3 separate regions of the Homo sapiens genome follow, and all the other regions are linked to region 1. The links are contacts of gene promoters, found by promoter capture Hi-C in blood cells and fetal thymus (Javierre and others, 2016). All regions are on one chromosome and are shown on one strand. Each heading gives the region's core, a stretch centred on a gene start or on the middle of the fragment in contact. The rest is flanking DNA. Distances are from core to core; before and after follow the strand shown.

The links. Contacts are between HindIII fragments. The CHiCAGO score rates a contact against its expected background, and 5 or more counts as called.
Region 2: a contact is called between a fragment that was not itself captured here and the fragment with the promoter of LINC00853 in region 1, in 1 of 17 cell types (total B cells). The highest score is 5.3, in total B cells.
Region 3: a contact is called between a fragment that was not itself captured here and the fragment with the promoter of LINC00853 in region 1, in 7 of 17 cell types (naive B cells, activated CD4 T cells, naive CD8 T cells and 4 more). The highest score is 8.8, in naive B cells.

The regions. Positions count from the first base shown.
Region 1 is chr1:47,177,424-47,180,542 of GRCh38, reverse strand. LINC00853 (long intergenic non-protein coding RNA 853) reads right to left here and starts at 1,293. Exons shown (of 2, transcript NR_047498.1): 1 at 1,105-1,293; 2 at 204-675. CYP4A22-AS1 (CYP4A22 antisense RNA 1) reads left to right here and starts at 920. Exons shown (of 6, transcript NR_199717.1): 1 at 920-1,353; 2 at 2,094-2,418. RefSeq lists an enhancer at 921-1,422. The HindIII fragment of the contact is 3,617 bases long and covers 547-3,119 here.
Region 2 is chr1:47,652,638-47,655,541 of GRCh38, reverse strand. No RefSeq gene overlaps it. Among named protein-coding and RNA genes, the nearest start is that of LINC01738, 34 kb to the left of the region's middle. The HindIII fragment of the contact is 588 bases long and covers 1,304-1,891 here.
Region 3 is chr1:47,682,318-47,685,438 of GRCh38, reverse strand. No RefSeq gene overlaps it. Among named protein-coding and RNA genes, the nearest start is that of LINC01738, 4.6 kb to the left of the region's middle. The HindIII fragment of the contact is 2,229 bases long and covers 572-2,800 here.

The sequences.
Region 1 (3,119 bases), core at 44-2,543:
TTATACCCAAACTCAGGCAGAAAAGAAAAGCCTCCACCCAGCAACTGCACAGTTGAGGGAAGACTGCAGCACTGCTTACTTCATTTAGACTTGAAGAGGAACTTCCAGCCAGGAGTTGGCTTTGAAAACAGGCTGTGGAGTTCCGTCTCCAGAGTGCCAGGTGGTCAAGGGGAGTTTCAAGATTACTGCCGTCATACTCAGAGTGACACATGCAGAAATACTATCTGTTTATTGTGCTTCAAGGATCCATTAGATCAGGACTATTGCTGGGCAAAGCCTCTTCCCGCAGCCTAGGGGTAGTAAAGGTGGGGGTAGAGGTGCTGGGGCTGGGGCCAGAATCACACACAGTCTGCTCTGGCCTCTACCCACCTTCACAGGGAAGTCAGGTGGCTGAAGCCAGCAGAACTTGCTCTGGGACCAGGGTGGAGGCACCTGCCTCCCATCCAGACCTGGCTGGAGGGTCTTGACTCCCTAGCTTGGCTCTCCTCCCAGGGTTTTTTTTTTTTTTTTTTTTTGTCCCTGGCAGTGCAGGGGTGGCCAAAAGCTTGAGCTTGGGAATCATGCCGATTGGTTCAAATTCCAGCCTGCTCCTCGATGCTTGTGGGATCGCCTAGCCTTTCAGATCTTCCATTCCTTTGCCGGTAAAATTGGCTCTATAGTACATTCCTTGCAGGGCTGCTGGGAGGAAACAGAGATGACATCCGTGTTATTATTGCTCCTGAGACTTGCCAGAAAGCCCTCCATGATCAGCGTAGATGCCATTTCTTCCCAGATGCTCCTTTCCCCACTCCTGGGTTCAGCACTTCCTCCGGGCAACTTCAGCCCCTGCTCCTCCCTCTCTTTGCACCCGCCCCACCTGCCCCACTCACTCCACCCACCCCAGGGTGCTGTCTACTTGTCTGCATCCTGCTCCTGCCCTGGGTCTGGGAGCTCCTCAAGGGCAGGAATGGAGTGACTTCCCTCTCTGTGCACCCAGGACAGGGCTGGACAGGAGAAGGGAAGCCCAAGGAGTGGTGAAGAGCCCCGAAGGAAGGGACTAAACTCCAGCCATCTGTCCCGCGGTGTCTGTTCATACTCCTCCTCCGTGCACGGGCTCAGACATACATATGCGCATATGCTCTGTCTCTTTCTGGTTGAAGGTCCTGGGAGCCCTCCGGAACTCTGCTGCCTGGCAGTCCTTCAGTTTCGGGAGCTTTTCTGTCTGCCCGTGGCCTCGGCTGCCACCTGGTGGCTGCACGCTCCAAAGGAAGCGTAGATTGATGAGAGCCTCGGAAGTTGAGCTTCAGGCGCGGCTCTTCCCCGTCACACTGGGACCGGACGCATTTCCATGGCGTGGTCCCAGGAACCTCTCAGGTCATGCCAGCAACTGGGACTTCCTGTGGAATGCAAGGGCAGTGGGGCCTCCGCGAGAGAGAGAGAGAGAGAGAGAGAGAGAAGAGAGAGATATTAAGGATGAATCCCAGTGTCTGCTCTGAGCAAATTGGAAGACGATGGCATCAGGGGCACTGCTCTGGGCTATATAGACTGTGCCTCCACTAAAGGGTCCCTGAGACCAGGTGTGGGCCCGTATCCCTGGAGGGAGAGGTAACTTCCTCTGATTCGAAGGCATCATATAGGCTAGTGAATGGCACTGAGAATGGCAGATGCCAGGGACAAGCAGGAGCATGTGTGGGATGAGGATGCGGCGTGGATGTGTGACGTTTCAGAGCCTGCAACACATCCGTAGGGAAGTCCTGGAGGAGCAGTTGGGTGCATGGTGGAGTTCTGAAACAGCTGGGCAGTCGGCACTTGAGCCAGAGATTCTGCTTTCGACCTGGATGCCCATTGAGAGGTTAAGAGCTCAGGTCTGGGTCAGGCAGCTTGGAAGCAGCACAGCTTGGACACTTGGTAGCCTGGGACTGTGGTTAAATCAACGTGACTCTCGGAGCTCCAGTTCACTGTAAATTAGGGCAGTAAATGATGTCTACATGATAAGTGGTGTTATGAATGTTAAACATTCACATGAAATACATAGAATAGTGCTTAGCATACAGTACACAATAACTGTTAGCTATTTGGAAAATTACTATTGTTATTATGATTATTTATTACAGAGTGAACTGAATTGGATGCAAGATCACGGTGCGTCAGAGCTAGCAAGATCCTTAGGATCATTTAGCCTGGTTTACTAATATTACACTATGGAATTTAAGCCCAAGGAATGGAGAGTACCCGACGAGCGTTATGTAAGGAGTCGAGTGAGAAGTAAGCTGGATGCTCTGCTTGGCTGGCAGGTACAGAATGTGCCAGACCCATCTGTACCAGCCTGGATCTCTTGAGGCATCAGCACAATGGACCTGGCCACACCAGTTTATTCCACACCGCTGAGGCTGGTACAGTTCTGGACATGGACTTTGTAAATAAATAACTGGGCCTTTGGTCAGTTCTAGCTGTGAGCTTGGAGGTATGGGGTGGGATGGTGAGGACAGGTGGGGGCAAAGTGAGGAAAGGGGCAGGGAGGAGAGGGGAGAGAGAAAAAGGGGAATGAGACAGGCTGAGCTAGTGAGCTGGAATTGGAGGTTGGGAACAGGCTTTCCTTGATGGTGGTGGTGCTGTTTTCTTTTTAATTTTAATTTAATTTTATTTTAAGTTCCAGGCTACATGTGCAGGATGTACAGGTTTGTTACATAGGTAAAAACATGGTGGTTTGCTGCAACTGTCAACCCATCACCTAGATATTAAGCCCAGCATGCATTAGCTATTTATCCTGATGCTCTCCCCACCCCTGCCCCAACAGGCCCCACTGTATGTTGTTCCCCTCTTTTTTGTTCACTTAAAAGATCCCACTTTTAAGTGAGAGTATGCAGTGTTTGGTTTTCTGTTCCTGTGTTACTTTGCTGAGGATAATGGCCTCCAGCTCCATCCATGTCCCTGCAAAGTACATGATCTCATTCCTTTTTATGTCTGCATAGTATTCCATGGTATATATGTACCATATTTTCCTTATCTAGTCTATCATTTATGGGCATTTGGGTTGATTCCATGTCTTTGCTACTGTGAATAGTGCTGCAATGAACATATGCTTGCATGTATCATTATTTTTTTATTTTTTTTGAGATGGAGTCTTACTCCCTCACCCA
Region 2 (2,904 bases), core at 348-2,847, 470 kb before region 1:
CCTCTGGTTTTCCCCAGAGGCTGGTTATGGGCCATTTTTTGGACTCAAATAACAGCATATTTTAAAAGATAAGATTAATCTCAGTTATACATATATATAAAGCAAGATTTTTTAAATGAGCAAGACTGAAATAAATATGTGGAATAGGCACAAACTGATGTTTTCTCTAGTTTCGTCTGTGTTTCATGATTGCTTCCTAAGTCTCTGGTTTTCTCCCAGCCCTAAGCACCCTCACCCTGCTGCCTCAAGGCATTCGTTCACTAAGATTCTGCCTTGAAACACTGTCCTCCCACTCTCTCTCAATAGCTCCTTCCAGCATGCAGCAGCCTTCTTGTGCAATGAAAATGATGTTGATATAATGCTGGATTTTGCTAAACGTCTTTAGCCAAAGTTACTATCATCATAGATAATATGTTAGAAACCCAAACCTTCCAACCCAGTTCTCTCCGCACTCCATACATGAAGCTCTATTCATTACAATAACAATAGCAACAGCTACCACTTCTGTCTGTGCCTGCTCTGTAACAGGTGCTGCTCTGAGCACTTCACATCTACCAACTCATTTTATTCTCACAAAAATCCTCATGGGGTGGATGCCACCATAATTCTCACTGACAGATGGTAAACTGAGGCACAGCCTTTGGCTAATGAATGGCCAAACCAAGATTCAAACCCAGGATGTGTCTTTGGGGTTCAGGTTGTACACCCCCACTCTTGGCTGCTTGTCATTTGGGACCCAGTTCTTCCCTTCACACAACCCCATGGATAGGCTTCATTGGTGGGGTTAATCACTCATAAGACTTTGATGCAGAGAAAGAGGTTAATGGGCGGGCTTTCCATGCCTGCCATATTCCCCTGAATATATGCTTTAAAAGAAATGCCAGAGGAATTATTGGATGTGAGGTATTTTGTGGGAGCAGGTAAGTAGCCACTCTCTATGGCCTGTCCAGTTCCCTACACTCCATGGTGATCTGAAAGGACCAGCCACCAAAGCACGCTCTGCTTCCACAAGCCAATCTGAAAAATGGGCTTGCAAAGTGAAAATTAACATCTGTCCACAGACCCACAATAACAACATAAATTATAAAAGTCTCGGAGAGAAGCTTCAGAGACTTGCCTATTTAAGACAAGTAAGATCTTTCAAGAAAAGAGCCACAGGTCTTTCAGGGGCCACAGAGGGAACTTGTTTTTAACACAAGAGAGAAACATAATAACAGAGAAAGTGACAGATTGTCACGGGTCTCAGTGCTACTTCTGCCACTTCCTAGCTGTGTGGCCCAAAATAAAGTCTACTGTCCAAGCTTCAGCTGGTCCTCAGGTCAATGAGAATAGTCCTCACTTTGTGTCCATGATTTTGGTCCTTTTGTGCCTTGTCTCAACTTTTGCATGAGTTGAACCTCTACTTATTCCTCAAAGCCTCGTGGAAGTGCCATCCCAGAAGCCCCAGGTGGAATGAGCCCCCCTCCCACTGGGTGCATGGAACACTCACTTCTGTCTTTCACTGGGGCTTACATATCTTGCTATTGTATTTTATATAATTGTTTAATCATTTAGGAAAGTGTTCGTTTGTTCGATGTGATCTGAGCACCTGCTCCAAGCCAAGGGTTGTGCCAGATGTTGGGAATATAATCATGAATGAGAGATTGTGATGGGCTGAACTGTGTGCCTCAAAAAGACAAGTTGAAGTCCTAACCCCAAGTACCTCAAAATGTGACCTTGTTTAGAAATAGAGTCATTGCAGATATAATTAGTAACATTAAATGAGGCCATAGTGGAGTAGGGTGGTGTCAGTATAAGAAGAGATACAAACGCACAGAGGCAGAGGTGCTGCCAAAATCCAAGGAATGCCTGGGGCCACCAGAAGCTGAAAGAGGCTTCTCCCCGAGAAGCTTGAGAGGGAGCACGGCCCTGCCGACATGTTAATCTCAGACGTCTAGACTCCAGAACTGTGACAGAATAAATTTCTGTTGTTTTAAGCCACCCAATTTGTGGTATTTTGTTATGGCATTTCTAGGAAACAAATACAGAAATGTTCGCCACTTTCAAGGAGCAATACATTAAACCAATAATTACAAAATAGTACGGGATGTGCTCTGTACAATCACAGAGGACATAACAAGTAACTCAGCCTTGGAAGAGGATCCAAAAAGACCTCCAGAGGGCGGGGCGCAGTGGCTCACCTGGTAATCCCAGCACTGGGAGGCCAAGGTGGGCAGACCATGAGGTCAGAAGATCAAGACCAGCCTGGCCAACATAGTGAAATCCCATCTCTACTAAAAATACAAAAATTAGCTGGGCATAGTGTCACTTGCCTGTAATCCCAGCTACTCGGAGGCTGAGGCAGGAGAATCGCTTGAACCAGGGAGTTGGAGGTTGCAGTGAGCAGAGATTGGGCCACAGAACTCCAGCCTGGCGAAAGAGTGAGACTGTCTCAAAAAAAAAAAAAAAAAAAAAAAAAGCCTCCAGAGCAGGCGCACAGTTGAAGCCGGGTTTTGAAGGATGAGTAGGAGTTCCCTGGAGGAAGGTAGTGGGAGAAAGCACTGTAGGCAGAAGGAACAGCAGCACTCCCTGTGCATCCCGTTGGTCTCTCCTGCTGGACTGTGCTCCCTGGTTCCCTTAGTGCAAGTCTGTGTTGTGACAAATGCTCAGCACTATCTCTTGAACATGCAGAGCCTTGAACAGACTCTCTAAACAAGAAGAGGGAACAGAGGATAGAGTGTAGGTGGCTGCCGCCAAGAGACAGGAAAAGCTGAAATCTTCAGATTCCTCAAATAGAGAGCAGATGGAGGGTAGCAGCAGAGGCCAGAGAAATGAGGCAGCCAAGCAGGGTTGGCTTTGAAAACACACACACACACACACACACACACACACACACACACACACAGACACACAAACACACCAGAA
Region 3 (3,121 bases), core at 437-2,936, 500 kb before region 1:
CCTGCTGAGGAGCAGCTTGGCTGGAGAAGAGATGAATGACAAGAAAAACCCAAGAGGAGACAGAGAGACCGCTTATCAGAAATGGGCCCTGCTCTGCTCACTCAGTGGGAAAATCCCAGCCCTTCATGCCTCTAATTCCTTCCACCCACCTCCCGCCCCACCCCTCTTTCTCTTTCTCCTTCTCTTCTTCTCCCCTTTCATGACCTAAAAGACCCAGGACTCACAGAAGGCGAGGCCTTGAGTGGAGAGTGGAAAACTTAGTCTTGTCTTCCAACTTCCAAGGGCTGGCTGCAGTCCTCTCCCTTCTCTGCCGGGTTCCCACTCCCTCCCACCTACTCCTTTTACAAGCCCAAGGTTTAAACCTCCAGTTCCCTAGGAATTTTATGAATGCTCAGCACAAGCCAAAATAAACTCGTAAAGAAAAAGTTTCTAAAGAAGGTCATAGACCCGTATAGCAAGTGCTAAGCGGTAAATACAAAAGTTCTTGGGGTCTTTGGGAGCTGTGGTCTGGGTGGTGGAAGGTTGGGGTCAATAGAGGGGAAAGGGAAGAACAAGGAGAAAAAGTGAAGCTTCCTTTTTCTCCTAGTTCTAGACCCTCAGAGTCTTTATTGTTATTATTTTGTAAAGCCTTATAGTTTGATGCCTCATTTTATTGATGCTGTAGCCCAGAGAGGTGGAGGGATTGATTCAGTGTCACACAGGAAGCTGGCCCGTGCGGTGCTCTGACACCCGTGTCTGCAGGCCTCACTCTCTGTGGTACTGACACGGTGAGGGGAGGAAAGGAAGGCGCCTTGGGATCACAGAGCTGCCTATTTTAACTCGTTAGAGCAGTGATGTCCAATAGAACTTTCTGCAATGGTAGAAATGTCTTCTGTCTGTGCTGCCCAATATAGTAGGCACTTGCCACATACAGCTATTAAATTAAGTAAAATGTAAAATTCAGTCCAACCAGCCACAATTCAAGGGCTACCATATTGAACAGCACAGATATAACACATTTCCATCTCTGTAGAGAGTTCTATTGGATAGTGCTGTTCTAAGGGCCACCATCACCAGCCCCAAGGACATGCTTGTGGTCATGGTGCAAGGTGGCCCCTTCCTCTAGGCTTTCACAGCCCTCAGTACTTTCACTACCCCCAATCATGACAGTTGCCACTCAATTATAAATGACAATGTCCTGTCTGTCTTGCCCACCTGAATGAGAGCACTTTGGGGGCTGGGGTCCTGTCTCTTTTCTCTTTTCACCTCCACGGCATCCAGCACAAGACAGATTCTCAATGATGATTTAGTCTCAGAATCTTAGAGTTGTAAAGGACCTTAAAGGGAGTCTAACAGAACTGCTCCCGGGGCAGGGACCTGCCCTGCAGCCTCTCAGAGGTAGCCCATCCACCCACTGTTTGCACACCTCTGGGGGCAGAGACCTCACTATCTCCCCAGGCAGCTGAGTCCATTTCTGAGCGGCTGGGATTATTAGAATAGACTTTCTCAAATCTAGCTGAAATCTCCCTACTTGCATCGTCTACCCTTGCTCCGCCCTCTGGCGTCTCACAATATTAATTTTGCTTTTGTTTCTATGTAATGACCCTTCTAAGAGCTAGACATAGTATATAATTCCTCCATGTTCCTCTTGAAACAAGAAGCTCATCACGGAATGCCTAATTCTAGATGTGGGCTGGTCAGCAAGGATAGCAGATACTGACCTCCCTTGATCTAGAGACTATTCTTCTGCTAGGGCCACCCACACATTTAGCAGCTTCATTACTCCATAGGCTCATCTTGGGTTTGGGTTGTATACACCTCCCAGGCCATATGCATGGCCCATGACTACGTTGCCCCAGTGGTGAATGGAATGGAAAAGGCCTCTGTCAATACTGCTCTTTGACCTGGGTGTGCAGGGACACTGCTCCTGCCTTACTTCTCAAGCAGCCTCACACTTTGAGTGCCAACCTCAACATTTTCTAAATCCCTCTCCATTGCCTGGGACTTGGGATTTGCAGTAAATACCAAGAAATATTTGGGGGCAATCAATAACGATCCTTCACTGATTTCCTGGAGCAATCCTAAAATCCTCAGAGACTATTCAACCTAACAGCCTTATTTTACAAGTGGCGAAACTGAGGCCTAGAATGTGCTAGTCTTTGCTGATCCCTGCTGGTGACGTCTGAGCCAGGTTTGAGTATTATTTGTGGGTACTTGGATCCGGTGACAGTATCAGGTGACTAGGGCTTGCAGTATCTTACAGATGGGATGCTGTGAGCCCAGACTGAGACCTGTATAGGCCCTGGTCCATTTCTCCCCTTCGGGGCTCTTTCCAACCCTCTCCTTCACACCGGGGGTTGACCAGATGCCCTAAGGAACTCTAGGATTAACTCCTATAGGCTTTACCTGGGACTGCATGGCCAGGCCCTGGTCCCAGTAGAGCAGTCTGGCAAATGGATCACTTCCACTGGCCAGTGTAGTACTTCTTTTATAGAATCCCATGAAATGGGGCCTCCAGAATGGCGCTGACATACTGATTTTAAGTGACAAATTGTTTCCAGAGACAGAGGCCTCACACACCCTAGAGGCAGTCCTGGTCCCTGTGTTCACAATCCAGTGGGAAAAACAGTCTACTCTGCAGTGTTGGGAGAGAAGTGCTGGGTGAGCCCAGAAGAAAGACCCTGGAGGGCTTCCTCGAGGCAGTGATACCTAAGCTGAGTCTAAAGAATGAGCCAGGAAAAAGAGAGAAGAGAGAATTACAGGCAGAGAAAATGGTGTGTAGAAAGATGCCTGCATACGATTCAGCCTGGTTATGTAAGCTTGGGAAGATGGCTTAGCTTTTTTGAACCCCTGTTTCTTTATCTGTGAAACTGAGAGAACAGTATGGGCCTCGCAGGGTCAAGCCTTCATTTGGCCATTCAGAAAACGTTCTGAGAACCTACTAAGCCAGGCCCTGTGCAGGTGCCAGGGGCATTCAGAAGAGCAAGGCACGCTCCTGCTCTTAAGGGGCTCCAGACCGTGGCCGTGCAGCAGCTGAAGGGCTGTCCCAGGGATTGGGCCCGGTTCCCCAGTAGCCCAGACGGCTGAGTTGACTCTGGCTGGGGTGATAGGGGCAGCTTCACTGACTTCCTGACCCTCAGGC